2 separate regions of the Homo sapiens genome follow, and region 2 is linked to region 1. The links are contacts of gene promoters, found by promoter capture Hi-C in human tissues and cell types (Jung and others, 2019). All regions are on one chromosome and are shown on one strand. The core of a region is centred on a gene start or on the middle of the fragment in contact, and the rest is flanking DNA. Distances in the headings are between cores, read along the strand shown.

Evidence for each region. The method cuts DNA at HindIII sites, captures the fragments that hold promoters and counts their contacts. A contact is called where the count stands out against the background at its distance.
Region 2: a contact is called between a fragment that was not itself captured here and the fragment with the promoter of OSBPL7 in region 1, in 1 of the 25 tissues and cell types used here (spleen).

Annotation. Positions count from the first base shown.
Region 1 is chr17:47,819,978-47,824,704 of GRCh38, reverse strand. OSBPL7 (oxysterol binding protein like 7) reads left to right here and starts at 2,911. Exons shown (of 23, transcript NM_145798.3): 1 at 2,911-3,039; 2 at 4,340-4,501; 3 at 4,609-4,727. The coding sequence starts at 4,427. MRPL10 (mitochondrial ribosomal protein L10) reads left to right here. Exons shown (of 5, transcript NM_145255.4): 5 at 247-1,433. The coding sequence ends at 500. RefSeq lists an enhancer at 2,453-2,622 and a silencer at 2,733-2,948. The HindIII fragment of the contact is 25,136 bases long and covers 1-4,727 here.
Region 2 is chr17:47,679,687-47,684,413 of GRCh38, reverse strand. KPNB1 (karyopherin subunit beta 1) reads right to left here. Exons shown (of 22, transcript NM_002265.6): 20 at 4,280-4,394; 21 at 3,745-3,906; 22 at 1-2,010. The coding sequence ends at 2,010. Among named protein-coding and RNA genes, the nearest start is that of TBKBP1, 12 kb to the left of the region's middle. The HindIII fragment of the contact is 4,511 bases long and covers 171-4,681 here.

The sequences.
Region 1 (4,727 bases), core at 1,662-4,161:
AGGAAACACTGACTTAATAGGGGTCAGGGCCAGGTGGATATATTAAGAGTTTTCTGAGGGAAGAGTGAAGAAGTAGGGATCGATCCCAAGCAGAGTGGGTGTGGTGTGGGGCACAGTGGAACCCAGGTCCTGGGGAAGGCAGGATTTTGAGAAGGGCAATGGAGAGCAAGTTACTAGGGTCAGAATATTGTTTTCAGAGAAGAAAGGCAATCTGCAAGGAGCCTAACTGACCCTGTGTTCTTCCAGGTGGCTGCATTGATGACACCATCCTCAGCAGGCAGGGCTTTATCAACTACTCCAAGCTCCCCAGCCTGCCCCTGGTGCAGGGGGAGCTTGTAGGAGGCCTCACCTGCCTCACAGCCCAGACCCACTCCCTGCTCCAGCACCAGCCCCTCCAGCTGACCACCCTGTTGGACCAGTACATCAGAGAGCAACGCGAGAAGGATTCTGTCATGTCGGCCAATGGGAAGCCAGATCCTGACACTGTTCCGGACTCGTAGCCAGCCTGTTTAGCCAGCCCTGCGCATAAATACACTCTGCGTTATTGGCTGTGCTCTCCTCAATGGGACATGTGGAAGAACTTGGGGTCGGGGAGTGTGTTTGTCACTTGGTTTTCACTAGTAATGATATTGTCAGGTATAGGGCCACTTGGAGATGCAGAGGATTCCATTTCAGATGTCAGTCACCGGCTTCGTCCTTAGTTTTCCCAACTTGGGACGTGATAGGAGCAAAGTCTCTCCATTCTCCAGGTCCAAGGCAGAGATCCTGAAAAGATAGGGCTATTGTCCCCTGCCTCCTTGGTCACTGCCTCTTGCTGCACGGGCTCCTGAGCCCACCCCCTTGGGGCACAACCTGCCACTGCCACAGTAGCTCAACCAAGCAGTTGTGCTGAGAATGGCACCTGGTGAGAGCCTGCTGTGTGCCAGGCTTTGTGCTGAGTGCTGTACATGTATTAGTTCCTTTACTGCTGACCACATTGTACCCATTTCACAGAGAAGGAGCAGAGAAATTAAGTGGCTTGCTCAAGGTCATGCAGTTAGTAAGTGGCAGAACAGGGACTTGAACCAAGCCCTCTGCTCTGAAGACCGCGTCCTGAATTTCTTCACTAGAGCTTCCTCATCAGGTTACCCAGAAGTGGGTCCCATCCACCATCCAGGTGTGCTTGGATGTTAGTTCTCCACCCTCGAGGTGTACGCTGTGAAAAGTTTGGGAGCACTGCTTTATAATAAAATGAAATATATTCTACTTCCTTTATTTTGTGGTTTACACGGTTGTCCTCCCTCTAAACTTACTCTCAGGGGCTTCTCTGTCATCTGACTTTCCTCACTCTTGCTTCCCTTCCTAGGAAAATCCTCTTCCCCTATACCTGTTCCCACAAATGGCATCCCGCGCATGCTTGCCCTATTAAAGGCAGCTGACAGCTGTACCCACTAGCTAACGTGTCTCTGGTGGTTCTGGACAAAAGGCCTGCGGGAAAACTAGGATTCTCTATTAATGGGGAATTCTGAGAGCTCTAGGGTAGGAGGCCTCATGCAAGTCTTCATGAACCAGAAATTCCTAATAAAGGAGACGGGATGCTTAACTCAGAGTCCACCATCATCCTTGACTGGAGCACATTCTGGGTGGATGCAGGGGTGACCCGGGGAAGGTGGCTGTTCAACATTCCTTCTCGGACTTGAAGCAATGCCACCGCTTCCTTAGTCTTGGACAGGCACTGTCTGGCAGGGATGACCTGCAGCAGCTCTTTTGTGGCCTGGGCCAGGACCAGCTTCCCCCAGTGCCTCATCCTGTGCTGTATGCCCAGGGATGTTCAATCACTGGGAAGTGGCTTAAAAGGCCCTTGAGGCTCCTGGATGCCAGAGCTTGTCTGGTCAGTGCTGCCCAGTGCTCCTGTCCCTCCCAGAACCCTGCCAGGTGCTAACAACACCCTCCTCCTGGGGTGGCTGGAGCAGCACTGAGGCTCTGAATAAAGGCAAGACAGTGGGTGTTCCCGAGAGATATGTGAGACCCTGAAACGTAAACCAAGCTCGGTGAGGATGAAGTGGAAGGGATAAGTGGCCCATGTCACTTTTGGGGTCAGAGAAGAAACTTGAATCACATCCTTCACCTGAGGCCCCACCTACTTCTTTCCAGAAAACTTAGCTGCGCTTGAAACTGTAGGTCTATGCCACATTCATTTGAATGAATTTTAGATCTTTGTTAAGAGCCGATTTTTCATTAGAATTGAGCAGCTGGGCACAGTACTCCAGCAGAAGGGTAAAGGGAAGGGAGGGGACCAGCATTGCAGCCCTTTTAACGGCAGCTGTGACTGCCCCAGGCCTGCTCCTGATCAGAGACTGCAGGCTGTGGGGTGTCTTCATACACACAAGCACTTTCAGATCTCCATGGGGCCTGACCTAGTGGGGCATCACCCCAGTGAAGGGCCTCAGTGTGGGGACTGCTGGCTGTCCCTTTCCTGGCTTGACTGCCCCTGCTGACTGTGCTCTTGGCACTCTCTTATGGTCCCAGAGGGGGCATCTGTCCCTCCACCATCAACCTGATACTTTTGCTGGCTCCAAATTTTGCAGTCTATTTTCAGATGTAAAATGAGAGGCGGGGGGCGGGGGTTAATTAGGAATTGGCCTTGGGTACTAACAGGGTCACTGCCATGCTAGTCTGAATAAATCCTTTATCACCACTGGCGTACAGCCAACAGTTCCCCAGTCCTCTGATCTATCTGGAACCATGCCCAGCAGGGACTGTGCCCCCACTCCCAAGCCACATCGATGCTAGGGCAGTCTGCTCAGCCCTGAGTCCTCCGGGGAGCAGGGGGGCAGAGCTGAGCGGCTGCCCGGAGCTTGGCGGGAGGAGGGGACAGGGGAGAGGGAGGTGGGGAGATCCGGCTAGAGGGGAGGCTCTGACATCTCCTTCCTTCCTGGTTCCTGCAGCAGCTGCTGCCACTGCTCAGCGCGGTGAGGAGGGAGCCGGTGACTCGGAGACGGTGACTCAGAGGCAGAGCGGCGCAAGGGCCAAGGAGTACTGGCGTCCATGGACCCTGGGGTAAGGGGGCTGCGTGGCAGCAGCTGACATTCCTGAGAAGAGCTTCCTCCCACCTGAAGCTGGTGGGTCTGCTCCTGAATAGAGGTGGAGAGGGGGCACCCACCTGGCTCACCTAGACCCTTCACCTGCCTACCGATAGAGCCTCCCCCTCTACCCACAAGCAGTGAGGGGCCAGGATCCCCACAGGGCCGGGAGAAGGGCCCAGAGATACCTGAACACCGGAAGAGTTTGAGAACTTTCAATGGCTGAATGCAGGAGTTTCCTCCCAGGTCAGCCTCTTGCAGCAAGGGTCCCTCTGCCCCAACCTCCTGGGCACCCGTTCCTGCCACATCCCTGTCCCCTCTGGGCCTCAGTTCCTCAGGTGCTTGCTAGCTCCATTAGAAGATCTGGGCTGCTTCCCCCACCTCAAACCAGCCTCGCCCCTCCAGTCCCCTCCCCCGTCTCACACATGCAGAGCCTCATGCATTATTGATCTCCCGGTGGAGCCAGGATGGCCAGGGCCAGTGCCAAGGGTGCCTGTGGGCACTGCTGCAGGACCTGTGCAGACCTGGGCATGTCCTGGGCCCCCTCTTCTCTCATGAAGTATCTCCTTTAGCCCAATGTCCTGCCCTCTCTGGGTGGGTGGCACTTCTCAGAGCCCCAAGGACTGTGAGGGTAGACAGGGGATGGTGAGGCTTTAGGGGGTACTGAGGGTCCAAAAAGGGCATCCTAGGGGCATGTTTGGTGGGAGGAGACATGGGAAAATGGGGGCTATCTCAGGCCTCAGTTTCTCCAAGCACTAGATAATATGGAGATTAATTGGTGGGAGGCTGGGGAGTTTTCTGCAAGATCATGGCAGAGAAGTCTCTGAGCTACGGTGGCAGGGTGGAGGGGTCCTGAAGGCAGAGGCAGCTGGATTGAGGAGGTCTCGCTTGTCCAGTCTCTGAACCCCTCTGTCTCTTCTTGGAGCCTCTTCTGTCACTCCCTTGCTTCACCTCTGAGCACTCCCAGGGAAGCCTCTAAAGAAAGCACTGAATGTTTCTTGGAGCCCCAGAGTATGTGCCCAAGGCGGGGCTGGGCATATGTCTTGTGGTTTTCCCTGGGCACCTGCCCGTCTGCTGTGTGCTAGTTCACTCTCAGGGCAGTGTCCATATCAGGTGAAAATGGGTGGGGTCGGGACAGAGGGGCAGACTTGGGAGAGGCTTGGCAGGTGAGCAGAGGGTATGTTGGGGAGCCCTTATCTCAGAGGGTGTGGGAGGGGCTGGAGGTGGGGAAGGTGATAGCAGAGTTTGCGTTAAGGGGGTCTTTCTCTTGCTTCAAGGACCCCGTCAGGAGCAGGTGACATCCTTCCCCTTCCACCCTGCTCCCTGCTCTACATCCCCAGCAGGGAGTGGCCTCTCCCTTCTCCATGGACTTCCAAGAGAGGGACCCGCCCTTCCTGCCTGAGAGCGCTCAGTCCTCAAAGCCCAGCAGTGCTCAGCAGGTCAGAGAGTGGGAAAGCGGTGGTGGGTGGGCCAAGCTGGAACCAGACAGGGAGGGGCCAAGGCGGACGTCTCACCAGTGCTCCCCTCCCTCTGTCCTGGACTGCAGGCCTCTGAGCTGTGGGAGGTGGTGGAGGAGCCTCGGGTCAGGCTGGGGACAGAGGGTGTCATGCCTGAGAGGCAGGAAGGTCACCTGCTCAAGAAGAGGAAGTGGCCTCTGAAGGGCTG
Region 2 (4,727 bases), core at 1,177-3,676, 140 kb after region 1:
CTGGTATGAGCTCTTTATTCACAATGGAGCGTCTCTCCTTCAAATACCTGGATTTTTTTTTTTTTGTACACTGGTTCATAGATCGGCACTTGACTTTGAACCTGGCACCAAAAGGCACAATATCTGATACCCTGTACAAGAGCTATTAGAGATGCTGCCATATGGATGGGCAAAACTGAGCCAATCCCACTTAGGAATGGAAGGCTTGGACATGGAAGGGAGGATATAAACGAGGAGTTGGAGAAAAACGCAAGCCCAGTTTTTGCTAGAGTGGAAATGAAAGTGGGAATGAGGGTCTTGTTTTTAGTCCTCTAAGGACCAGGAAGCAATTTTAAAACTTCCTTGGTTTTTCTGAAAGCAGCATATTCAAAATGCCAGCAAAAACTCCTAACAACTGCAAAACCAAAAGAGGATCAAAGCTCACCAACATCCCTTCTTATTGCTGAAAGGCTCTAAAATTCAGGATGCCCTGTTCCCTTGTAAAAGGGAAAATAATTAAGTCTGATTTATGGTAATCATACCACATCACACTTCTAAAAAAATATTCAAGTGTGTGACCAGGGGACGTTTGACACCATTTTATTAACCTTCAACTTCAGTGGAAAAATAAAACCTTTTCCAAGTGCCATTTTCATCACAAGACTTCTAGTTAGTGTGTGTGTGTATTCACACAACACACACTTTTTTTTGTTTTTGTTTTGTTGGTTGCTTTTGAAGTGCAGCAAGAGACCAATACCGCATTGTAGTCAATCAAATAAAAGAACAGAAGGCCAAGCAGTTTCCAAATGGTTATTTTATCAGATTGTTTGAACATTTAATTTATCCTGTTTGCAATCCAAAATAGTTACCTGAAGTTTGCTGTTTTGTGTGTATGTGTTTACTTTTATTGTATATTTATTTTTCTAAACTCTTTGGCACAATTTTCTGGGGGCGTTCAGACTGCCACAATACAAGTCAGGAGAGGGCGTTTTCTTTGTGCTGCCAATTCTGATCATTTAAATTTTGGTTTGTTTGGGTTGTGATTTTTTTGTTTTTGAAGTCTGCGTTATTTGTAACAATTGTACTTATATTTTTCTATATCCTCTAACGCCAGAGTTTTCTTTTTCTCCCCCCTCCCCCCCACTTCTACATTCACAGTTGAACCATATTATTAGGAAAGGCGCCTTGATGAAAAGATCAGGATAGGAGCTCTGACCATTCGTCAGTGTTTTCCCTAGAGTAAAAAAAACAAAAAACAAAACCAAAAAAAAAAAACAAAACAAAACCTAAAGAGCGTCTTTCCTCTGTGTGTGTGTTTTTTTTTTTTTTTTTTTTTTTTTTTTTACATCTCTTGTGCTGCATCAGTAAACAAAACTTCGGTTAGTTTTATGAAATGCAACATCTAACCCCTTGTTTTCTGGGAAAAAGAAACTGCAATGACTTGAAGTTGAGAATGTGGATACCGCCTCACTCACACACACTCATTCTCAGACTGTAAAAAATCCCTGACCCTCCTTCTAGCTGGCAAGCATACAGTACCATGTGGCAAAGGTACAGCGAAGGTGGGCTTGAGACCCAGGCTCCATCTTTCTCCTCAGTAGCAAAGGCCAGGCTGCCTTTTACAACAAAGCACCACAGCTGAACCCAGTCCCTCCTCCTCCCCCAAACCAGGCATTCCACTCGGCACTGGCCAAAAGACAGAAAAGCTACTTCTAGCCTCTCCTGGGAAGAGATAACTTTCTTTCTTTTTTTTTAAATAAGTAACTCCATTGTTTTTCTCTTTTCCAAGATGGCCGATGTTATGGTTTTCTACGAAGTCAGTGCTTACTTAGCTCACTAACAGCGCTGCTGTTGGCGGCTGCGGCTGCTGCTGTGGCAGGATTTTCAATGTGGTGTGTTTTCAAGCCTCACTCACTCATCCTCTCATTCCCAAACATTCAGCATCCGTGCACACTCCTCACTTCCAGGTTTTTCAAAAGATGGGAGATTTCCAGTGGGGGTCCTCAGGTTATCATCCCAATGGTAACAGATCTGAAAACAGATGGAAAAAAAGGTCAATCTTTGAGATCACATATACCCAACAGAGCCAATAATGCTGACTCCTACAATTACATGCTCCTAGGCCTGAATGGAATTTGTCAACATTTCAAGGATTGACACTCTTTCTTCTTGTCCTATGTGCCATTGACCTGCTCTTATTAACACCTACATCAGAGGGTGCGAGGGAAACTCAAAGAGCCAATTTTACTGAGATCTGTGGAGTAAGATAACTAATTAAGAGTGAAAGAAATTAAAACTGTATTTCAGTCTGGGTGCAGTGGCTCAAGCCTTTAATCTCAGCACTTTGGGAGGCCAAGGAGGGAGAACTTCTTGAGGTCAGGAGTTCAAACCCAGCCTGGGCAACAGGAGATCTTGTCTCTAAAAATAAAAAAAAATTAGCCAGTCATGGAGGTGCTTGCCTGCAGTCCCAACCACCTGGGAGGCTGAGGCAGGAGGGCCACTTAAGCCCAGGAGCTGGAGGCTTCTATGAGGTGTGATTGTACCACTGCACTCCAGCCTGGGTGACAGAGGAGACTCTGTCTCCAAACAAACAAGATTGCATTTCAAAGTAGGAGCCAAGGCCTGGTGTGGTGGTGCACACCTGGGAGACCGACAAAGGTGGATCACCTGAGGTCAGGACCAGTCTGGCCAACATGGTGAAAACCCATCTCTACTAAAAATACAAAAAAAAAAAAAAAAAAAAAAAAACCTATAATTCCAGCAATTTAGGAGGCTGAGGTGGGTGGATCACCTAAAATCAGGAGTTCAAGACCAGCCTGGCAAACATGGTGAAACCCCATCTTTACTAAAAATACAAAAACTGGGCCAGGCATGGTAGCTTACGCCTGTAATCCCAGTACTTTGGGAGGCCGAGGTGGGTGGATCACGAGGTCAGGAGGTCAAGACCAGCCTGGCCAAGATGGTGAAATCCTGTTTCTACTAAAAATACAAAAAAATTAGCCAGGTGTGGTGGTGGTAGGGCACCTGTAATCCTAGCTACTCAGGAGGCTGAGGCAGAGAACTGCTTGAACCCGGGAGGCAGAGGTTGCAATAAGCTGAGATCGCACCACTGCACTCCAGCCTGGGCGACAGAGCGAGACTGTCTCCAAAAGAAAAAAAAAAAAAAAAAGAAGAAGAAAAGAAAAGAAAAAAAGAAAATTAGTCGGGTGTGGTGGCATGTGACTGTAATCCCAGCTACTCGGGAGGCTGAGACAGGAGAATTGCTCAAACCCAGGAGGCAGCAGTTGCAGTGAACCGAGATTGTGCCATTGCACTCCAGCCTGGGCGACAGTGAGACTCTGTCTCAAAAAGAAAACACACACACACACACACACACACAAAAAAACATTTGACTTTGGAAATCTTCTCTAGAGCTAGGCAACGTCTAAAAGCACTGCTGTAAAGAAAGAATAGGGCATGAGGAAAGGAATAGAAAACAGAAGAGAATTAGGGGGAAATGGCATTACTGATGATTTTATTAGGACCCAAAATACTCAGGGAATTTCAGTGAATTCCAGTTTTAAAAGTTCTGCTCTCCATCACTATGAGGAGTCAAACATTTGGCTCAAGGAAAAACTGAGGCTGCCTGACTCAGAAGCACCTACATGGGAAAAAGTACAAACAAAAAAAATGCCAGAAGGCAGTGCTTGCCAGAATGGCCTAAAGAAAACATACCCCCCTCCTCCAGGAAGTAGAAGAAAGAGGACAGTGGAGGCAAGATCTTACCAAGCTTGGTTCTTCAGTTTCCTCAGTTCTTTTGTTGCCCATGTAGCAAGGGTTTTTGCTTTGTTAGTCTTCGATCTCCGCCCTTCAGTTAACAATTCATGGATCATTGGCCTAGCTTCTACTAATTTCAGTACATCCTTCCCAAATGCTGTACATAAGTCCCTGTGCAAAACAAACACAGCTGAGAATGAGCTCCTAGCCCCATACCAGTATAATGTTTTGAGCCTTCCAAACCAGTGCTATGGGTTTCTTAGCAAATTTCAAAGATAAATAAAACCCTCAGTAGAGGTCACTAGACAGAGGCAATTGTTGACCAACATCAGAGTTTAATGGGGTGTAATACAGACACCTTGAGGGTCTGGAATAAACTATCATGTGAACACTCAAAACAGGACATGAAGCGTTCTGCAAAGAAATCTCTGTGCCAAAAAAGTGAACTGTTGCCATCCGCGATACTCTCAAAACTCCTTACTCCATGTTTTCTCATTTTCTGTGAGAAGTTCTATTCAGCTCTTAGAAGCAGGGTATAACTTACCCTATTAGTCCAGCAGCACAAGCTACTACTCCATCTGTGTGATCCTCATCTCCAGCAATGTGGTCAATGAAAGACAGAATAAATTCTACTCTGGGTTGTACCAGCATCACATCCGCTATAAAAGAGAGAGAAGGTATTGGTCGGGTGCGGTGGCTCATGCCTGTAAACCCAGCACTTTAGGAGGCCCAGGCGGGTGGATCACAAGGTCAGAAGATCGAGACCATCCTGGCTAACTCGGTGAAACCCCGTCTCTACTAAAAATACAAAAAAATTAGCCGGGCGTGGTGGCGGGCGCCTGTAGTCCCAGCTACTCAGGAGGCTGAGGTAGGAAAATGGCGTGAACCCAGGAGGCGGAGCTTGCAGTGAGCCGAGATTGCGCCACTGCGCTCCAGCCTAGGCGACAGAGCAAGATTCCATCTCAAAAAAAAAAGAAAAAAAAAAGAGAGAG